Linked DNA regions of Homo sapiens: region 2 is linked to region 1. Evidence: promoter capture Hi-C in human tissues and cell types (Jung and others, 2019). All regions are on one chromosome and are shown on one strand. The core of a region is centred on a gene start or on the middle of the fragment in contact, and the rest is flanking DNA. Distances in the headings are between cores, read along the strand shown.

The links. Contacts are between HindIII fragments. The study calls those that stand out against the background at their distance.
Region 2: a fragment that was not itself captured here is called in contact with the fragment with the promoter of FBLL1 in region 1 in 1 of the 25 tissues and cell types used here (spleen).

What each region holds. Positions count from the first base shown.
Region 1 is chr5:168,525,398-168,532,017 of GRCh38, forward strand. It overlaps FBLL1 (fibrillarin like 1), which reads left to right and starts at 3,908. Exons shown (of 1, transcript NM_001355274.2): 1 at 3,908-5,237. The coding sequence starts at 4,108. The coding sequence ends at 5,112. RefSeq lists a silencer at 3,067-3,361 and enhancers at 4,215-4,756, 5,612-5,781. The HindIII fragment of the contact is 8,115 bases long and covers 1-6,461 here.
Region 2 is chr5:168,585,072-168,591,516 of GRCh38, forward strand. No RefSeq gene overlaps it. Among named protein-coding and RNA genes, the nearest start is that of PANK3, 8.9 kb to the left of the region's middle. The HindIII fragment of the contact is 4,965 bases long and covers 1-4,419 here.

The sequences.
Region 1 (6,620 bases), core at 2,658-5,157:
TGCTAGGATTACAGGCATGAGCCACTACGCCCAGCCCAAATTTCAGATTCTTATTCTATAAAATGAAGAATTACAGAGAATTTCTAAGGTGTCTTGTGGAAAGAAGACCTTTGCAAAAGTAGGCCAGCTAAGCTTTTTGAGCATTTCCTGAATGGCAGCCACTAATTCTACAGTGGGGAATGGAGTAAGAGTCTGAGCCACCAAGAGACGAAGTGTCCCCCAGCAGAAGTAATGGCCAAACAATAATGACATCCCAAATAAGGGATTTTAGCTACTTTCCAAGTCCCAGAGGCTACAAAAAGGGAGAAGATTCTCTTTTTCTAATTAATTAACCAGCTATATTAGATATATTATTGGGAGTTGACTAAGATTGTGAGTTTTAGTCGTGTTAGGAAGGAGGTATTATATTTTGTCTTGACGAGTAAATTTAAATATATGCACGCCAAACAGTAAATTTCACCTGAGGTGTTTGTGTTTGGTGCACTGATCCAGGTGTGCCAGCTGGCATTATGCAGTAGACACCTAGGTAAAAACATTTACTGTTCCCCAGTTATGGCACCCACATATCTCAGCTGCCTTTCAGCTAGGCAGGGCATGTGACTGGCTTTGGCCAGTCATCAGCCAGGAGGCTGAAGTGGGAGAATTGCTTGAGCCTGGGAGATCAAGGCTGCAATCCGTGGTGAGTAGAAATGATTGTGTCAAAGTCCAGACTAAACATACAAAAAGGTTGTGAGTTCTCTGCACTCTATTCTTCAGCAGTACAGTGGAGGCCCTCTTTTTTCTCATGTTGCAGCCACAAGATGTTGGGGCCTGAGTTCTTCAGTGGCTGTGTGGTGCAAACCTCCCGCTGACTCTCAGTGGACATAAAACATAAGAAATCTAAACATAGCTGTATTAATACATTGAGATTTTGGAGTTCTATGTTACTGCATCATAGCCCAACTCCTCTTGAGCAAATATAGCTGCACCTGTCACTGGGGTGGAGATCAGATCCCTACAGTCAGTCACCTTTGGAGGTGGACCATGGCTTAGAGAAAACAAGTTTCTTCATGCATGGATGCTTAAAGTATAATGAGAATGGAGATGGGGTTATAGAGTATTACCTCTGGTTTCATGTCAATCATGGCTAGTTACTCCTTGGGCAATTTGTTGGAATGGTTCTGTGAGAAAATAAGCAAAATTCCTCATGCATTTTTTAAGTCTATGGGAATGATTGATGTGCACTATGTCTACTACTGAGGCCTAGTCACAGATGTAATTATGATCATTACTTTAGGGCACATCTTCTGGAATAACAAGTCAATTGTAAACAAAAGTATACATGGTGCCAAGTGTGGAGGCTTGTGCCTAGAATTCCAGCAACTCAGGAGGCTGAGGCAGGAGGATGGCTTGAGGCCAGGAGTTGGAGACCAGCTTGGGCAACATAATGAGGTCTCATCTCTACAAAAAGTAAAAAAAAAAAAAAAAAAAATTGCCAGGCATGATGGTTTATACCTATATAGAAAGAAACCTGGCTGGCCACTGTGGCTCACACCTGTAATCCCAGCACTTTAGGAGACTGAAACAGGAGAACTGCTTGAGTCCAGGAGTTTGAGACAAGCCTGGGCAACATAGTGAGGCTCCATCTCTATAAAGAATAAAATTTTAGCCTGGTGTGGTGGCACACACCTGTAGTCCCAACTACTCAGGAGGCTGAGGTGGGAGGATTGCTTGAGCCTGGGAGATCAAGGCTGCAATAGCCATGATTGTGCCACTGCACTCAGCTTGGGTGACAGAGTGATACCCTATCTTAGAATAAAAAAAGAAAAAATAAAGCCCTTTTCTTTATAAATTACCCAGTCTCAGGTATAGAAACAAATTAAGACAGTGGATTAATGCCCCAGCCTCCAACCTGCAGTAGAACAATTCTGAGATGCCTTCCACACAGTTTCTCAGAATACTCACAGCAATTGAGCTCCCATTGTCCACTGTGGTCATCTACTCATTAATCTACCCTCTTTTTTTTTTTTTTTTTTTTTTTGAGACAGGGTCTCCCTCTGTCACCTAAGCTGGAGTGTAGTGGTGTGAGTTCAGCTCACTGCAGCCTTGATCTCCCAGGCTCAAGCGACCCCTCCAGCTCAGCCTCCTCAGTAGCTGAGGTACTACAGGTACTACAGTGACTACAGGTACTACAGTGACTACAGGTACACACCATGACACCTGGCTAAGTCTTGTTTATTTTTGTAGAGACAGGGTCTTGCTATCATGCTAGGACTGGTCTTGAACTCGTGGGCTCAATCAATCCTCCCACCTTGGCCTCCCAAAGTGCTGGGATTACAGGTGTGAGGCACTGTGCCCAGTTCTTTCTTAACCTTTCTATCTTCTCTATCTCATTTTTGCCTCCCCAACATGTGCTTCCTGGGATCACCTCACAAACCAATTGGACTCAAGGCTTTGTCTCAGGATCTCTATTATTCAAGGTTCTCCAAAGACACAGGCCTGTAGGATATATATATGTGTGTATATATAGGATATATATTGGCTCATGTGATTGTGGAGACCAGCAGGTCCAAAATCCGCAGGGCCAATGTCCCAGTCCAAAGGTTGTCAGGCAGAAAGAGCTGATGTGCCAGTTGAAAGGCCCTTGGGCAGGAGAATTCTCTCTTCCGTGGGGAAGGTCAGCATTTTGCTTTATTTCTGCCTTCAACTGATTAGATGAGGCCCAGCCACATCGTAGACGGCAATCAGCTTTACTCAATATACCAATTTAAATGTTAATCTCATCAAAAAACACCCTCACAGAAACACTCAGAATACTATTTGACCAAATATCTGGGCATCCCATGGCCCAGTAAAGTTGACACATAAAATTAACCCTCACAGACACCAAGTGTAGTTCATCATTTTGGAAAATATTCACCTTATAGCAAGAATGGAAACCTCTAAGTAGAGTATTTTATGTGAACCATTCAACCTCAGGAATCATACATTTCACTCACTGATCCCTTGTTCACATTCCAGTGTATAAAACTCTGGTCCCCATTAAGGAGACACTCCAGTCCTCAGGGAAAATCAGACCTGGCACTGTCGTCCATGAGTATGAGACGGGAAGAGCTGTGGTCCAGGATGGAACGGAAGTCATACTGCACATACCAGGTGTTCAGTAAATGCTCCGATCTTCAGGTGCGCGTTGTCTCTCTCTCTCTCTCTCTCGAGTAGACACTTAATTCAACTAACGGGAGGCTGGCCAGTTGTTTCACCACCTATCCTACTTTCCCCAGCTCTTGTGTGGTTCCCAAAGCCCCTAGCAGTAGCCAAAACGGGGGCCCCAACTGCTGTCGCTGTCCCTGGTGCTGACTAAACCCTAAAGCCTCTGCGTTGCGGCCTTGGGGCCATTGGTGGTGCCGAGTTATTCTTTTATTTTCTTTCTGTTCTTTTCTTTTTTTCTTTTCTTCTCGTTGCTGCCCTTGGTGCTGCCCAATTATTCTTTTCTTTTCTTCTCCTCTCCCTCTCTCTCTTTTCTTTCTCTCTCTTTCTTTCTTTTTCTCTTTTTCTTTCTTTCCTCAAGAAAATGCTGCAGATTTAGAGAGTGACTTTGAAGCATAGACTAGACTTCGAGGATGAACATGACATTTTGGCTCTCTGTGTATCCCCATTCACACTGAAGAATCAACAACACTTCCTTGCTGATCAATAGTCCCAGAACTGGTGGCACAGCCAGGACCGACGCTGATGCTTACCTCCCCCTCTCCTGCAGCAGAGACGCCCCCGTCCCTGTGGCCCAGGGAAGTGCCAGGGATCCCTGGGAAGGCGGGAGATGGGGAAGGGGCAGGGTGAGCGAAGAGGAGCAGGCTGCGTCTGCACGCGGGCTGGGAAGCGGGGCTTCCGGGCCGCAGGGTCGCGGGGACGGGTGTGATGCAATCGCGCCACAGCCGCTGCGTCAAGGGGCGGCTCCGGGATGCGGGCACTGCGGTAGAGCCCGTCCTGCCCCCGCCGCCCGCCGCCCGCCGCCCGCCTCCGCTGCTAAACCCGCGGACAACCGCCGGGACGACCACCCAGAGCCACCAGAGCCCCCTGACACCCGCCCCGAGGCACCGGTAACCCACGGCACCCGCCCCGGTGCGTGCCATGAAGTCGGCCGCGAGCTCGCGCGGGGGCGGTGGGGGCGGCCGCGGGGGCGGCGGCTGGGGCAGCTGGGGCGGGGGCCGAGGCGGCGGCGGCGGCGCGGGCAAGGGCGGCGGGGGCGACGGCGGCGGCCAGGGGGGCAAGGGCGGCTTCGGGGCGCGGGCGCGCGGCTTCGGCGGGGGCGGCCGGGGCCGGGGGCGCGGCGGCGGCGACGGCAAGGATCGCGGCGGCGGTGGACAGCGGCGGGGCGGCGTGGCCAAGAGCAAGAGCCGCCGCAGGAAGGGCGCCATGGTGGTGTCGGTGGAGCCGCACCGGCACGAGGGCGTCTTCATCTACCGCGGGGCGGAGGACGCGCTGGTCACGCTGAACATGGTGCCGGGCCAGTCTGTGTACGGCGAGAGGCGCGTCACGGTGACCGAGGGCGGCGTGAAGCAGGAGTACCGCACGTGGAACCCGTTCCGCTCTAAGCTGGCCGCGGCCATCCTGGGCGGGGTGGACCAGATCCACATCAAGCCCAAGTCCAAGGTGCTGTACCTGGGCGCCGCGTCGGGCACCACCGTCTCCCATGTCTCCGACATCATTGGCCCAGACGGCCTGGTCTACGCCGTCGAGTTCTCCCACCGCGCCGGCCGCGATCTGGTCAACGTGGCCAAGAAGCGCACCAACATCATTCCGGTCCTGGAGGACGCGCGGCACCCGCTCAAGTACCGCATGCTCATCGGGATGGTGGACGTGATCTTCGCCGACGTGGCCCAGCCGGACCAGTCCCGCATCGTGGCCCTGAACGCCCACACCTTCCTGCGCAATGGGGGCCACTTTCTCATCTCCATCAAGGCCAACTGCATCGACTCCACCGCATCCGCCGAGGCTGTGTTTGCTTCTGAGGTGAGGAAGTTGCAGCAGGAGAACTTGAAGCCTCAAGAGCAGCTGACCCTGGAGCCCTATGAGCGGGACCACGCTGTGGTGGTCGGGGTCTACCGACCTCTTCCCAAGAGCAGCAGCAAATAGCACCCAGCTCAGGCTCGCCTGCCATCTCCCCAAGGCTGCGTTGTGTTTGCTATTATTTTCTGTGTGTTTTCTTTGTGAGTGTTTTGTTTTGTTGTTTTTCTATTAAACTGCATAAAGAAACGGCACCTATCTGTATGGTGATGCCAGGCTAGGTTTTGCTGCAGTAACAATCAACCCCCAAATCCCAGTGGCCTAAACCGGCTGGTATAAGGGGCCCATCCAGCAGTAGCCTGGGAGCTGTGCTCATTCTAATCACTCAGGTCTCCAACTCCCCAGGGCCCCATTTTCACACATGCTCCCCCCATCCCTAGGGCAGAGGAAAGAGAGCTGCGGAATTGCTAATAAAAGCTTTTAAATGTCCCCTTGGAACTGATGGGGCACTTCTGCTCACATTTGGCCAAGTCACATGACCCAGCCTGACTCGGGAAAAACACTGAATGTTGGTGGACAATAATATAGTCAAACACACCAATCATCTGACTCACAGCCAAAGTCTTAACCACAATAGGTTTTTAGTATTTTACTCTTCAACTAAGCCCTTTTGCATTCACTGTTAAAGTGAATAATAAATAAATGTTAAATTTATTCCTCACACCAGCCCTGAGATGGCTTTGTTAGCACTTGCATATTACATGTGAAGCAACAGGGCTTCTGAAGGTAAACTATTTTGCCCAAACGTACATAGCCAGTAAGGAGGTAGAACTTAAATGCCAGTCTTCGGGGCTCTAAATCCATTGCTGTTTCCTCAGCACCAGGGGGATCTTGTCTCTGGTCCCCAACCCCTATGGCATGTGCACAGGGACACACTTAGAGCAGGGCCCTGTGACCTTATTGTGTTCTTTCGCCCTCCCCTGTCCCCCCCGGGCTACCCCTTTGTTTGGTTTCACAATAGCAAAACAAGATGCGGGGCAGATGTGGGTCTAGCTAGCAGACTGTCTCTACTACAGGGCATAACATACCCAAAGTGGTATCACCAAGTGTCTGCAGAACAGGCAGACAAATTACTCCCAGAAAGTATCTGTCTTTGCAAGGCATGTCCTGCACTTCCCAAGTTGCTGGTCTCAGTACCTCGCAGTCTCTCTCCAAAGCAGCCCAAAGGGAAGGGAGAGTGGGTAATCCGAGGAAAGCTGAGAATGCCCCAAAGGCCCAGTAAATCCCTCCAAGCCAGACTTTTCATTCATTCATGCATGCATGCATACACACTCCCAACTGCCAAAAAGACCCACATCAACATTTAGTCTTTGAATGATTGCTCACTAATGTATCATTTGGAGGGTGGATTTGCCTTTCTAAAGATGTGCTTGGGCAGCAATTGTGGTTAGTCTGCTTTTTCTGAGGGCATACTTCTTGAACAACAACAAAGGATAAATCAGACTTTTTATTTTTGTTTTATTTTATTTATTTTATTTGAGACAGGTCTTGCTCTGTCGCCAAGGCTGGAATGCAGTGGCGCAATCATGGCTCACTGCAGCCTTGAACTCCTAGGCTTAAGTGATCTTCCTGCCTCA
Region 2 (6,445 bases), core at 687-3,186, 58 kb after region 1:
TTATTTTTATTTTTTTGAGACAGAGTTTTGCTCACCCTGGCATGAGCCATGGTGCCCAGCCCAGAGATTTCTTTCATCTCTACTTTTTGAATTTCACTAAGAACCTGTTCCCTTTTCAGGACCAATGTGAAGTGTGTTCAGTTCACTAAGAACCTGTTCCCTTTTCAGGACCAATGTGAAATGTGTTCAGCCATGTGTTTCCTAAAGTTTTCACCAGTGTGATTGAAACTGACAGGTCATCCTGTTTTAGTTTGTGGCCACTCTTCCTTCTGCAGCCTGCGTTGGCTTTCAGCCCCAGTCCCTCCTCCTAGCACCATCTGGTTAATTGCATTTTCTCTCTTTTCTAGCATGTCCTCAAAACCCATTCCTGGCAGAGTGAATGCAGGAGCTGGGAAAAGCATCTAAAGGGGCCAAGAGACTGTCTTCTTGTCTCAATATTTATTGTCTATGAAACACAATAAATCCAGCCCATCATGCAAAATGATAGAGGAGACCTGACACATCTTCATTTTGCCTTTACTGAGCGGGTATCCACAGAGACAGGTGGTGAGTTGTACCTAATGATGACTATAGGTCTCCTGGTATGAATAAACACACACACACACATGCGCACACACGCACACATGCACACATGCACACACACACACATACACTCACACCCTACACACCCTTCAAAGCCCAGATGAAGCTTTTAACAGCGGATTCTGTCTCTAATTAAATGGTCAAGAACATACTTCAGTCAGTCATTGGATCCACAAACTCAAATAAGCTAGGGGAGAACATCATGAATATTAGCATCCTCAGTCATCATCCTTGTCATCATCATTATCAGCAGCAGCAGCAGCATCGTCATCATCACTATCATGATAGTGGAAGCACAATTTAATTCAAAAATACTAATTAAGCTTGAACTATCTTCCAGGCACTGGAGTACTTGCTGGGGGTGGAGAGAGGTGAAAAAGAGAGAAACAATAATTAAGTTAACAAATCAATAAACAAGAATAGGCTATAATAAGTGATGTGAAGGAAATAGTCAGGTTGATGTGCTAAAGAGTGGCTGGGGCTGTGGAAGATTGGTTGGGGGTTCAGGCTTTATTCTAGATTGGATGGGCCAAGGAGGATAATCTCAGAAAGTGGCATTTAAGCTGGGACCCATGCAGATTGCTGGGAAAGAGTGTGCCCGACAGAGGTGTGACTGGTCCTGAAGGTAGATTTTTTTTTGAGGAACAGAAGCAGCAATGTGTGAGGAGTAGAGAGTGAGGTGTAAAGTGATAGGAGATTAATCAAAGAGTTGAGCTTGCTGGCCCTTGAGGGCCACCTGAAAATTTTAAGCAGGGAGTGATTTGTCCATGAATTTAGAGGATTATTTTGGCTGCTTTGTGGAGAATGACTGGATGGGAGAGGAGTTATGACTTGGAAATGAAAAGACTAAGAGACTCCCATCCTTCTCAACCCACACAGAGTCAGTCACCAAGTCTGAGGGGTTCCCGGAGCACTCCAGGCATTGTACAGGGACTTGAATCATTATGGGAGCAGCAGAGACGGGGAGAAGTGTTGGATCAAGAATTTCATTTAATAGTTGGGTGTGGTGGCATGTGCCTGTAGTCCCAGCTACTCAGAAGGTCAAGGCAGGAGGATCATTTGAGCCCAGGGGTTTGAGTCCAGCCTGGACAACATAGTGAGATGCCATTTCTAAAAAAAAAAAAAAAAAAAAAAAAAAAAAAAAAAGAGAGAGAGAGAGAAAAAGAAAAAATTAAGAATTTATGTCAGGTATTAGTGAAGGGTGAATATTAGTAAAGCTGAAAAAGGTTTGAAGAAGTTTACAAAAAAATGAACTTCATTTAATTCACGTTTATTGAGCTCTGACAATGCACCAGGCACTGTTCTAGGGATTAGGGATATGGAGATGAATGGGATAAGGCCCCTGCCCTCCTGGAGCCTACGCTCCAGAGACAACAAAGGTAGTAAACCAGTAGGCAGCAGTATAATATCATTTTAGATCATATAAATGCTATGAAGATGATACGGCAAGATAAGGGGACCAAGAATGATCGGGACTGTTTGAGATGGAGTGATTGTTGAAGATTAATTAGATTAGATGCATGGGTATGGGGAAAAGGAGGCAGGAAGTGTAGTAGGTTTTAGGGTTTGGGCTTGCACTTCAGAGGAGACAGGTAGTTGTGTCATTTACTAAGAAGGGAAGCCTGGAGAGTAAATAAGTGGTTGATTCTCCCAGCCACTCCTCAGCTCAGGTTGGGGATGCTAGGCATGTCTTGCCATAGGAGTCAGCTGGTTTCAGCAGTTGGTGATTTTCATCTCAGAGGCCCCCAGTGTGGGTGTCACAGACTTCTGCTCTGCCCAGGAATGCATCCTACCAGGCATTTCCTAGGGAGCAGGGAAGAGCCTCTCCCTGGAGTTCTCCTCTGCCTGCCGATCCCTGCCTCCTGGCACCTCCACCTCAATAGTCCAGTTTCATCATTCTCCCACTCCCTCTTCATTTCCCTAAAGGCCCTGTTTCAGCTGGTGGTTCCATCCACCACCCACTTGCCCAGCACAGAAAGTTAGGAGTCATTCTGGACTCCTCCTGCCCCGTCACAGTGCACATCCAACCAGTCACCGAGTCTTCCTGCTGTTACCTTCCTGTCTCTTCCTTTCCGTCCAACCTCACTGCTCTCAACTGAGCACCAGCCTCTGCGTCTCTCATTTATACTCTTAAAGACCCTTTCTGGTGGGCATGGTGGCTCATACCTATAATCCAGCACTTTGGGAGGCCGAGGCTGGTGGATCATTTGAGGTCAGGAGTTCGAGACCAGCCTGGCCTACATGGTGAAACCCTGTCTCTACTAAAAATACAAAAATTAGCCAGGCATGGTGGCACGCACCTGTAATTCCAGCTACTCAGGTGGCTGAGGCAGGAGAATCGCTTGAACCCAGGAGGCAGAGGCCGCAGTGAGCTGAGATTGCGCCACTGCACTCAAGCCTGGGCGACAGATCCAGACTCCATCTCAAACAAACAAACAAACAAACAAGACCCTTCCTGGCAGGTGTGATGGCTCATGCCTGTAATCCCAATGACTCAAGAGGCTGAGGTAGCTGAGGCAGGAAGATCAGTTGAGGCCAGGAGTTCGAGACCAGATGGGGCAACATAGCAAGACTCTGTCTCTAAAAAATAAAAAAAAAGACCCTTCTTGCCTCTTGCCTGCCTTTATCTGACCCACCCTCTTTACCCATGCCAGAGAGAGTTTTCTCAATAGCAAACCAGAATGTATCATTTTCAGGGCTTAGGACCTTGTCTCTTCCTGACATGTTGTCTTCAAGATAAAAATCCCAGCTCCTGAGCCTAGGGTATAAGACCAGTCATGATTGGCCTCTGTGTATCTCTTTAGCTGCATCTCATGCCTCTACTCACCCTTCATTATATGTTCCAATCAGACAAAAGCAGCTTCTAGCAAACTAAATGCTTGCTGCTGCCTGATGTCCTCACTCCTTTCACAAGTGGAAGACTCTCTTTTTGAGTTTCATTGAACACGTTTTTCTACTTTAAAACCCAACCTAGAAATCCCCTCCTCCAGAAAAGCTTCCTCTCTTCTATGCTACTTCTGGTCCCTGCATGTGCTTCTAGTTTTCTCACTCACTGCAAAATAATACAGTGATCCGTTTACTTGCCTGTCTCTTTCACTGCCAGATGAGCTGTTTGAAGGCTAGCATTGTGACTTATTCTGTTCAGTGTCCCCAAGCCTAGCAGGGGATCTGCCCCCATATGGGGACTTACAAATAATTAAATTGGATGGGTGTTGGCCCAGGTCCTTCAGATGCAACCTGGAAAGTCTTATTCTTGTAGAAACTTCTAGAAACATAATTAATGACAACAAAAGCAGTCTAGCACCTCTTGTAGGAATGAATCACGGTATTTTAGAAGGGTGGGACTAGACAGTGTGGCCTAGGAGCCATCATGTACTTCCTCACACGATGTTTAATCAGGGGCAGCTCTAATTACAGGTGGCCCTCTTCCTGGACTTGCGATGCCTAATAGTGTATTTATCAAGGCTTTCATCAGGTTAGAGTAGAGTGGTTAAAAACTAGGCATTGTAATCAGGCAGAATTAGGTCCCAATCCCTGATTGGTTGTGCAACTTTAGAGTGGTAATTTTGCTTCTCAGTTTTCTCATCTATAAAATGGGGATAAAAATGGCTCCCTTGCCATTGAGTCTTTGTGAAGATGAAATCACTTCATGCATCTAAAGTGTTCAACTCAGTACTTGGCATTGGGAACAAAAGAGTTGGCTTGATGTTGACTATTAGACAAAAATTCATGATGACATTTAAGTCTCAATGTAAGTATCACTTCTGCCTGCAAACAGATTAGTTTACTTTCTAAGATAGGTGCCTGCTTTACTTTCTCAGATAAGTTATTTATTTATTTATTTATTTATTTATTTATTTATTTATTTATTTTTGAGACAGTCTTGCTCTGTCGCCCAAGCTGTGGTGCTATCTCGGCTCACTGCAACTTCCGTTCCCCGGGTTCAGGTGATTCTTGTGCCTCAGCCTCCTGAATATCTGGGATTACAGGCATGCACCACCACACCCAGCTAATTTTGTAATTTTTAATAGAGACAGGGTTTCACCATCTTGGCCAGGCTGGTCTCAAACTCCTGGCCTCAATTGATTTGCCCGCCTCAGCCTACCAAAGTGCTGGGATTACAGGTGTGAGCCACTGTGCCCGGCCCTCATAGAACTTTAATACTTTTATTTATATCATTCATCACGATGTCATTTAGTCTGACATCCTCACTCAGCTCAGAAAGCTCCCAGAGGGCGCGGCTGTCTTTTTTATTGTTTACCATTGTGTTCCTAACTTTTAACACAGTTCCTGGTACAGAGACAGTTCCGACCGAATATTTGAATAAACAAAAGAATGAATAAGCAAACCTTTCCTAACGGCTGCTACCACTAAAGATCTTAGCATGGTGTGTGTGTGCGTGTGTGTGTGTGTGTGTGTGTGTGTGTGTGTGTGGTGGGGCTATTCAGTAAGGCTAGAAGTGAAAAAGCTAGTAGAAAGCCCATGGTGATGGAGAATGGAGGAAGACTGATTAGGGAGCTCCTCAGCAGTATAAGGAAGGACTAAGAGCACATAAGGACAGGATCATAGAATTCCGCATCTCAGGATTTTTGAGGCTGCCACTGCCTTAGCTGTGAGGCCAGTGCATATAAGAATAGTTTGCACAGTTCTGCTGTGGAAATCAGGGCTTTTACTGAAAGCTTAGCCAACTAGCCAGCAAGAATAGCTTTCTGGAACTTAGAGCCTTGTGAAAATTCCCAAACTGAGGATAATTCCAAAAAAGGTTTTCTTGCTGGCTTTGAAAAGTAGGATATACTTTTTAAAACCCCTTCTTCATCTATGATACAGATTATCTGACAGTTCCTGTGCAGAAGTCCACAGAAGGCAGGAAAGAAGGGGCCAGGAGTAAATCAGGTGCCTCATATGAAGACCTCAGCTAAGGAATAAGAAGAGTAAGAAAACAGCACGTCTTCAAATAACATCATTTCCTTCAACGCCGTTTCATTATGTTGATGAGAAAAAAAAAATCTCTTCCCAGCTGGGGCCACTGTCTGTGTGGAGTCTGCACATTCTCCCCAAGTCTGCATGGATTTTCTCCAGGTACTCTGTTTTCCTCTCACTAGGATACTATCCCAAAGATGCACACCTGAGGTTAATTGGTGTGTCTGAAAGGTCCCAGTGTGAGTGAATGTGGGTGTGTGCGTGAGTGCGCTCTGCAATGGGATAACGTCCTGTCCAGGGCTAGTGCCTGCCTTGTGCCCTGAGCTGCCAGGATAGGCCCCAGCCACCCAGGACCTTGAACTGGATTAATTGGGTAAATAATTCTCTTATCTCTTTTTATTAATCTTTCCTAAATGACTGTATAGCTCACATTTGTTTCAATGTTTAACTTTTAGAAGTGTTTTCAGTCTTTATGAGAAGTTTAGTGATGATTCTGTTACCAGAACTATGCCATAGGAATTTAACTCTTGTTAGTATCAATTAGCCTATGGCCAAATTGGTTTCCTTATACATCGTTTTGCTTGAAGTTGCGTTTCCAAGATTTTATTGACAATGTTAAGTGAGGACTTACTGTACAGCGTGGGGGTCAGGTTAGAGCAATGCTATTCAAAGTGTGGTACACAGATGGCTGCTGATCCCCAGACTGCTTTTGGCTTCCAACAAGATATGGAGCAGGAGGTAAGTCAACTGCATCACTAATCATACTGTTTGTAGTTCAGCTGGTATTTTCTTCACAGTAAGACTTTCTCCATGAAGGTAGCATTGCATTGATTTACATTTTGACCCAGGCTGTCACTGCCCTAGGCTTGGACCATTAACAAATAGTTCACTGTAAAGCTGCTTTGAGCAGCTCTGGTTTGGAGCATGGGCTTTGGAATCAGTC